2 separate regions of the Homo sapiens genome follow, and region 1 is linked to region 2. Evidence: promoter capture Hi-C in human tissues and cell types (Jung and others, 2019). All regions are on one chromosome and are shown on one strand. Each heading gives the region's core, a stretch centred on a gene start or on the middle of the fragment in contact. The rest is flanking DNA. Distances are from core to core; before and after follow the strand shown.

What was found. The method cuts DNA at HindIII sites, captures the fragments that hold promoters and counts their contacts. A contact is called where the count stands out against the background at its distance.
Region 1: the fragment with the promoter of OCM2 here is called in contact with the fragment with the promoter of BHLHA15 in region 2 in 1 of the 25 tissues and cell types used here (mesendoderm cells).

The regions. Positions count from the first base shown.
Region 1 is chr7:97,988,946-97,993,116 of GRCh38, forward strand. OCM2 (oncomodulin 2) reads right to left here and starts at 1,251. Exons shown (of 4, transcript NM_006188.4): 1 at 1,099-1,251. The coding sequence starts at 1,159. The HindIII fragment of the contact is 22,202 bases long and covers 1-4,171 here.
Region 2 is chr7:98,210,183-98,214,859 of GRCh38, forward strand. BHLHA15 (basic helix-loop-helix family member a15) reads left to right here and starts at 1,257. Exons shown (of 2, transcript NM_177455.4): 1 at 1,257-1,316; 2 at 2,074-4,677. The coding sequence starts at 2,128. The coding sequence ends at 2,697. It overlaps TECPR1 (tectonin beta-propeller repeat containing 1), which reads right to left. Exons shown (of 26, transcript NM_015395.3): 26 at 4,442-4,677. RefSeq lists a silencer at 1,129-1,318. The HindIII fragment of the contact is 24,836 bases long and covers 1-4,677 here.

The sequences.
Region 1 (4,171 bases), core at 1-2,500, 220 kb before region 2:
TTTTGAGACAGAGTCTCACTCTGTCGCCAGGCTGGAGTGCAGTGGCGTGATCTCGGCTCACTGCAACCTCTGCCTCCCAGGTTCAACTGATTCTCCTGCCTCAGCCTCCCGAGTAGCTGGGATTACAGGCATGCACCCCCATGCCCAGCTCATTTTTGTATTTTTAATAGAGACAGGGTTTTGTCAGGCTGGCCAGGTTGGTCTTGAACTCCTGACCTCAAGTGATGCACCGGCCTTGGCCTCCCAAAGTGCTGGGATTACAGGTGTGAGCACCACACCTGGCCCTTCAGTGATTTCTTGCTTTCATGTTTAGTAGGTTTCTTTTGTCTTACAGAAGTGTAATCGTGTGCTCAGATCCCAGATCTCTATAATTTTAGTTATCTAATAAATAGTAGTTTTCTTCTCTGATTCCATGAATTTTCCAGCCAAGCTCTTATTTACTTATTTATTTATTTATTTATTTATTTATTTAGAGACAGAGTCTCACTCTGTCGTCCAGGCTGGAGTGCAGTGTAGCGATCATAGCTCACCACAGCCTCAACCTCCTGGGCTTGAGTGATCCTCCTACCTTAGTTTCCAGAGTAGCTGGGACCACAGGCACATGCCACCATGCCCCGCTAGTTTTTATTTTTATTGTTATGTTGTAGAGATGGAGTCTTGTTATGTTGCCCAGGCTGGTCTCAAACTCCTGGGCTCAAACAGTCCTCTCACCTTGGCCTCCGAAAAGTGTTGGGATTACGGATGTGAGCCACCATGCCTGGTCTACATTTTTTTTTTTTTTGTAGACAGAGTCTACAAAAAAGGCCGGGTTCAAGCAATTCTCAGCCTCAGCCTCCCGAGTAGCTGGGATTACAGGTGCCCACCACCACGCCTGGCTAATTTTTTTGTATTTTTATTAGAGATGGGGTTTCACCATCTTGGCCAGGCTGGTCTCAAACTCCTGACCTCGTGATCCACCCACCTCAGCCTCCCAAAGTGCTAGGATTACAGGCGTGAGCCACTGCGTCTGGCCGCCTGGCCTACATTTTGATTTTGTGTTGCCTCGCTGGAGGGGCAAAGCTGTGAGGAAATCCCACCCCCGCCCCACGTCCCCTCTACCTTGGCATTCCTGGAGCGCTGCTGCAATGTCATCAGCACTGAGCACGTCCGTGATGCTCATTTTCTACCTACTCACACAGAATAAACGAGAGGCGATAAGCCACAAACAGGAACGTGCACATCCAGGGGAAACACATCTTCCCAGGCCCACTGAAACTGTATGTGTGTCTAGATTTTTTTTTTTTTTTTTTTTGAGATGGAGTCTCACTCTGTCACCCAGGCTGGAGTGCAGTGGCACAATCTTGGCTCACTGCAACCTCCACCTCCTGGGCTCAAGTGATTCTCCTGCCTCAGCCTTCCGAGTAGCTGGGATTACAGGTGCGCACTACCAGGCCTGGCTGATTTTTGTGTTTTTAGTAGAGATGGGGTTTTGCCATGTTTGCCAGCCTGGTCTCGAGCTCCTGACCTCATGTGATCTGCCTGCCTTGGCCTCACAAACTGCTGGGATTACAGGCATAAGCCACCAAGCCAGGCCTGTCTAGAATTTTTAAAATGTGATAAGCATGGTTTTGTATTAAGTGACGGGACAGAATATCCAAATTAAAACCAGATACCAAAAAGACCCCAGCCCTTTTTGTCTCAGAGCCTTCTTTTGAATATATGCCAAAAATGAAAAAAAAAAACATGACCCAAAGAAGGATTCAATTGTTTTCTTATAAAAATTATACTGACATAATCAGTCATTTGCATAGGCAGCCGTAAACCATGTTACAAATGCACTGGCATTTTCCTACAGCAGTCCGAGAGATGCACTGTTGCAAATTCCACGTGGGAAAGGATACAGTTTGGGCTGCTTGCAGACATTCTGTGGAAGAAGACATGCTACCTGTCCTGAAAGGTGGGAAGCAGATGGATGAAAAGCCCATCTCCCAGAGATTAAAATCCTTCCAGATGTCAGAGCCATGGGAAAACAGGAGTCTAAGCACCTGAGCCTAATATGAATGCATGCAGTGAAGAAGAGTCTGGGGTCTGATGGGTCCACCAGTTACTCACCGTTTTAGGTTTTCCCCCAGGAAGAATCAGGAAAAAGAGTTGAAGGAGCAAAACAACAGATGTGCTTTTGCTACCTTACTGACCTACCTTATATAGGCTAGAAAAAGTGATAGTTACAACCTCTTAGATTTCCTTTTCAAGGATCAAGTGGATGCAGCTCAAATGTCTTGTCCTACTCAGGAAACCTCTTTTTTTTTTCTATTTATGTCTCAAGGGAATGTGGGTGGGAATAGCCAATTGTAAAAACAACAACAACAACAACAACCTCAACAAACCTTAACTAAGGTTTCAATTCTGCAAACGAACCCTGTTGGCAAAGTGTGGAGAAGGTTCTAGAGCCTGGTAAGCTGGAGATGGTGGCCTGAACTAAGACAAACACATACAGGGTGCTCTGTAAGCTGAAAAGCTCCCCAGATGTTAGCAGGTACCGTTGGAGGCAGGCCTGTTTTCAGCTTTGGGAACTATGGATGTGTAAGGCTGACCTCAATCTGGAGTTGAAGACTCAAAGCCATTGTCACCAAGTGCACACACAGGACTCGTCCGGCACAGGAGACAGGGCTAAGTGACGTGATTTTCCTACAAAACTCTTGACTTTTACGTTTCCCAGCTATACCATAAATTGCACACACTCAAAAGGCAAAAAGGAGGAAATCAAACCAGCATCCCCAACCCCCAAAACTAACAAGTTCAGAAACAAATACTCTGAGGCTGAGGCCAGGACTAGACACCTCAAGATTTTGTTTCTGTTGTGACAGGGTCTTGCTCTGTTGCCCCGACTGGAGTGCAGTGGTACAATCTCAGCTCATTGCAGCCTTGACCTCCAGGCTCAAGCGATCCTCCCACCTCAGTCTCCCGAGTAGCTGGTACTACAGGCACACACCACCATGCCTGGCTAATTTTTTTAATATACATATTTTTTGGAGAGACAGGGTTTTGCCATGTTGCCTAGGCTGGTCTTGAACTCCTGGGCTCGAGTAATTCTCCCACCTCAGCCTCCCAAAGTGCTGGGATTACATGTGTGAACCACCACTCCTGGCCTTTTTTTTTTTTTTAATTTTCAGCAAACATTTATTGAGGCTTTATATGGCCAGCACTGTGCTAGACTCTTCTTTTTAATTATTGGGTAAAAACCACATTCCATAAAATATATAATCTCAACCATTTTTAAGTGTATGTATAGTACAATATTGTTAACTCTTGGTGCATTATTGAATGAGAGATCTCTGTAATTTATTCAGCTGGAAAAACAGAAACTCTGTATCCATTGAGCTGCCACAACTCCCCTGTTCCCCCACCTCCCAGCTCCTGGTAAGCATCATTGTACTTTCTGCTTCTAAGAGTTTGACTACTGGCCGGGCACAGTGGCTCATGCCTGTAATCCCAGCACTTTGGGAGGCCGAGGCAGGCAAATCACAAGGTCAGGAGTTCGAGACCAGCCTGACCAACATGGTGAAACCCCATCTCTACTAAAAATGCAAAAATTAGCTGGGCATGGTAGCCTGTAATCCCAGCTACTTGGGAGGCTGTGGCAGGAGAATCACTTGAATCTGGGAGGCAGAGGTTGCAGTGAGCTGAGATTGCGCCACTACACTATAACCTGGGTGACAGAACGAGACTCCACCTCAAAAAAAAAAAAGAGTTTGACTGCTTTATCTAGGGACATCATATAAGTGGAATCATATAGTATTTGTATTTTTCAGACTGGCTTATTTCACTGAGTATAATGTCCTCAAGGTTCATCTGTGTTGTGGCATGTGTCAGGATCTCCTTTTTTTTTTTTTTTTTTTTTTGAGACGGAGTCTTGCTCTGTCACCCAGGCTGGAGTGCAGAGGCATGATCTCAGCTCACTACAACCTCCGCCTCCCGGGTTCAAGAAATTCTCCTGCCTTAGCCTCCCGAGTAGCTAGGATTACAGGCACATGCTACCACACCCGGCTAATTTTTGTATTTTTAGTAGAGATGGGGGTTTCACCATGTTGGCCAGGCTGGTCTCAAACTCCTGACCTCAAGTGATCCACCTGCCTTGGCCTCCCAAAGTGCTGGGATTACAGGTGCGAGCCGCCGCACCTGGCCTAGGATC
Region 2 (4,677 bases), core at 7-2,506:
TGGCTGGGCGTGGTGGCTCACGCATGTAATCCCAGCACTTTGGGATGCCGAGGCGGGTGGATCACTTGAGGTCAGGAGTTGAAGACCAGCCTGGCCAACGTGGAGAAACCCCGTCTCTACTAAAAATACAAAAATTAGCTGGGCGTGGTGGTGCATGCCTGTAATCCCAGCTACTCGGGAGGCTGAGGCAGGAGAATCGCTTGAACCCGGGAGGCGGAGGTTGCGGTGAGCCGAGATCATCTCGCTCCATTGCACGCCAGCCTGGGCAGCAAGAGCGAAACTCCGTCTCAAAAACAAACAAACAAACAAAACAGGCGTTCCCAAGGACTGCACACCTGCCCAAGGAGCCCCCCACCCCCACCCCAACTCGGGCTCCGCCCCCAGCCCGTAGGAGCCCCAGGTTCCCCTAAACATCCCGGGCGGCGGGGCGGGGGATCCCCTGGGAGATGCCCGCGTTTTCGCGGAGCGGCTCGTCCCGGAGTGCTCCTGGGACTTGGGATCTGTGTGCTGAGCCTGAATCGGGGCTGCCCCTCCTTCCGGCGGCTCCCAGAGACCTGTTTCCCATTGGCGGAATGGGCCCGGGCCCCGCCACGAGTGGAGAGGCCGGGCAAGGAGGATCGCGGGAGGCATGGATGCGGGGGTGCTGTGTCAGGGGGAGGGTCGGGGAAAGCGGGCGGGGGGAGGCTGTCTCGGGCACGGATATGGGGTAGGCGGGTGGGAAAGGCGCGAGTGGAAATTGAGGGGGAGGATGGGGAAAAGCAGGTTGTGGGGAGGCTGTCGGGGGACGGGAGTAGGGGAGGTGGGGACGCAGGCTGTCTTGGGGGGGCTGTAGCGGGAGAATGGGGAGAGACGAATGGGGGGAAGCTATCTCGGGGCGGTTGGGGGGCTGTCGGGGGAGGATGGGGAGAAGCGTGTGGGGGAGGCTGTCTGGGGGAACGAGGGTCGGGGGCTGTCGGGGGATGGTGGGGAGAGGCGGGCGGGGGTGGCTGTCTTGGGGGACGAGGGTGGGGGGCAGTAGGGGGAGGATGGGGAGAGGCGGGCGGGGGAGGTTTTCTATCTTGGGGGCGGGGCGGAAGCTGGGGGCGGGGCTGCGCGGCCACCTGGTCCGGGAGCCCCAGGCGCCGGCCTCCCGCCCGCCCGCCCGCAGGTGCCGCCACTGCTGCCCAGCGCCCGCCGGGACACCCGGACCCCGGCCCCGCCCCGGCCCCGCCCCGAGGGCTCATTTGCATGCGTCCGCGGCCCCTCCCGGGGCGGCTAAAGCGACGTGTCCTTGTCCCCCGTGGGCAGCCTCGGCGCGTGTGGCCGCGGATCCCCAGGTAACCCGGGAGCTGGGAACTCGGGTGGGGCCGCGGGGAGGGGACCCAGGGGCAGGACCTGGCGGTGGGGTTGTGGGGGTTGTGGGGGCTGTGGGGAAACCCGGGTGGGGGACTTCTGGTCTGTCTGGAGGCTCCACGGGGCCCATCCACGTGGTGGGATTGGGGGCTGCCGCCAGGCCCTGGCCATTGCCGACCTCTGACCTCCACGGCTGCCCCATGTCCGCAGCGGTTCTGGCCCCAGTGCTGTCCCATGTCCGCAGCGGTTCTGGCCCCAGTGCTGTCCCTGCACGTGTCACGTCCAGCGGGGCAGGACAGTGAGAGCCTGGTGGCTGGAGTCACTGCCCGCCCACGGGATGAAGTCAGTGCCGCCTCCGGCAGAGGCGCCCCCTAAGCTAGGGTGGGGGACGCATTCTAGGCAAAGTGTCAAAGGTCACCGAGCTCAGGAGGCACTCTGGGGGCAGTGAGGGGCATGAGCCAGAGGAAGATCTAGGGGTCAGGATGAGTCATCCTGGGGGAAGGGGGACGCAGGGACAGGGACAGATTCCAGAGGTCTGTTTGAGGTAAAGCAAGGGCGTGGGTGTGTGTGGGGTCAGCCCAGGGCTAAGCGTGTGAACAGAAGGACCTCCAGTCGCAGAGCGCCAACCCCTGCCCCTGGTACCATTGCTGTCAGCAAGGAGGAGGCTGCCAGGGACGGCACCCCAGCGGGTCCCCTGCCCATGTGGGGTGACCACAGAGTGTCCTGTGTTCTGGATTTCAGCTCCAAGGGCCTCACCTTCCTGCCGCCACCTCCTAGGACAGCCAGTCCAGGGCCATGAAGACCAAGAACCGGCCCCCACGGCGCCGGGCCCCGGTGCAGGACACAGAGGCCACCCCCGGGGAGGGGACGCCCGACGGGTCCCTGCCGAACCCGGGGCCAGAGCCGGCCAAGGGTCTGCGGAGCCGGCCGGCCCGGGCCGCAGCAAGGGCTCCGGGCGAGGGCAGGCGCAGGCGGCCAGGACCCTCCGGGCCCGGTGGCCGTCGTGACAGCAGCATCCAGCGGCGGCTGGAGAGCAACGAGAGGGAGCGGCAGCGGATGCACAAGCTAAATAACGCCTTCCAGGCCCTGCGTGAAGTCATCCCCCACGTGCGCGCGGACAAGAAGCTCTCCAAGATCGAGACGCTCACGCTGGCCAAGAACTACATCAAATCGCTGACGGCCACCATCCTGACCATGTCCAGCAGCCGCCTCCCAGGCCTGGAGGGGCCGGGCCCCAAGCTCTACCAGCACTACCAGCAGCAGCAGCAGGTGGCTGGGGGTGCGTTGGGGGCCACGGAGGCCCAGCCCCAGGGCCACCTGCAGAGGTACTCCACGCAGATCCACAGCTTCCGAGAGGGCACCTAGCGCCCAGTCCTGGGTGGGGGTGGCGGTGGCCGCAGCTGCCTGGCCTGCTCCTCCCAGCCCCAGTCCCTCCAAGCCACGAGCCCCAGATGGGCGGTGACACCCCACAAGGACACGGCCTCAGCGGTTCCATTTTCCCCCGAACATTCAGCCACTTCCCTGGAGCAATTTTTCCTGCCCCGCTGGGGACCAGCGAGTGGCCTAGTTGCGGCTGTGGCCCTGGACAGCGGCGTGAGGCCCAAACCTCTAGGTAGGGCCCAGTTGGATCCTGATTTTTCATTGAGCCAGGCAGTCTCAGCCCGAGTTGAAAGGCCTCCTTAGCCTTGGAACTAACGTCTCTTCACCCTGACTTCTGGGCAAGGGGAGATCCCAGGAAAAGGTTTACCTGCAGGTTTTCCAAGGCCAAAGCCCCAGCAAGGACCCCCTCTCCAACCTTTGTTATAGGGCTACATGGGGCCTGGGCTCAGCATCCTCATTTGGGGTAAACTGAGGCCCGGGACAAGCCCGGCAGAGCCTAAGGCTGCTCGGGGAGTGGGGCCAATCAGAGATGATTGGAGCTGCCAGAAACTCTAATCAGATGACCTCCAATTCATCCTTAAAAGTTGAATGGTGGGGAGGGGCTGGAGTCTCTTCCTCCCTCCTCCCAAGTTGGGGCTCCTGGATGTGTTGACTCCAGGCTGTGCCTGGTTGTGGAGGGTCTGGGGCAGGGTGTGAGGGGTGCTGTGGAACTGGAGCAGGAGACAGGGCTGGGTGTTCCTGGTGCAGCCCTTCTGGGCATGGGAGAGAAGCCCCAAGGCCCTGGGTTGCTCCCCAAGAGCAGCTCTGAGGCCTCCTGCTCAGCCCTGGCCTGTGTGGGGAGCGAGTGTGCCCCCCACCCAGCCCCTGCCACCGCCGTTACTTATTCTCACTGATGTGGGGTTATCATATAATTGGCACCATGCTGTCTGTAGGACATTATGACGTGCTTGGGTTCTGGTTTGAGTTGGCAGCCCGTTGGGTCTCTCTGCCTGGTGGAGCCTTGGGGTGGCAGGTACGTCCCTTCCCCCGCCCAGGTGCTTCATCCTCATGGCCAGGCCTGGTGGCTTGGCACGTCTCTGCTGCCCCAAGCCCAGCTTCCTTCTGCTGGGCGTTCCTGCCCCACTGGCTCTGCCGGACTTGGCTACTGGACTCTCCCCTCCCTCATGCCTCTGCCCAGAGATGTCCCAAAGGCCCTCAGGGCCAAGCCGGGCCAGGGATGTGGCTGCCACAGCTGAGACCAAGGGCTCTGGCTGGCCCGTCCCCACCAGGTGGCCCTGCCCTCCCCAAGTTGGGGGTTGTGGCACTTGGGGTCAGGCCTAGCCACGTAAGGACACAGGTAACACCCTGAGGATCTGGCATTGGCAGCTTCAGGCCTAACTTTCCTGGTCAGGGCCCCTTAAGGTGGCCCGGGCACATTGGTTTCATTTCGATGAGACTTTGTCAGAGGCCTGGTCTGGTCCTGGCCCTACCGCCCCAGCTGTCCTTCAGCACAGCTCGGGGTGGGGACTCCAGGATGCTGGGTCTGCCCCTTGGGAGGGGCACTCTGGAAGGTCAGGGTGATCCACAACTGTGAGCTGAGGTTGGATGCAGCTGGGAGCTTGGGACAGAGAGAGCCCAGGGCTCCCCTGCTGTGGGGCACCTGCCCAGCGGGGACATGAGATGACAGAGACCTCCCCGGCGGGGGTACTCAGGTGCTACGAACATGGCAGCTCTTGTTTCCGGCTGAGCCATGGCCAGAGCAGGGCTCAGTCTGCCCCTGAACTTGCTGAATGGACCGACGAGCTGAGCCTGAAAGCCCAGAAGAGCCTCGGTCCAGAAGACGGAGACTCGGCCCGGTGTCCAGCGCAGCCCAGGGCTTCCTGGGGGGCAGCAGGAGTGCCTGGGGGTCACCGCCTTCAGGACAATGGCCTCAGTGGCTCTTTCTTTCTGCCCTGAACTGGCACCTGCACCTCCTCTGCTTCCTAG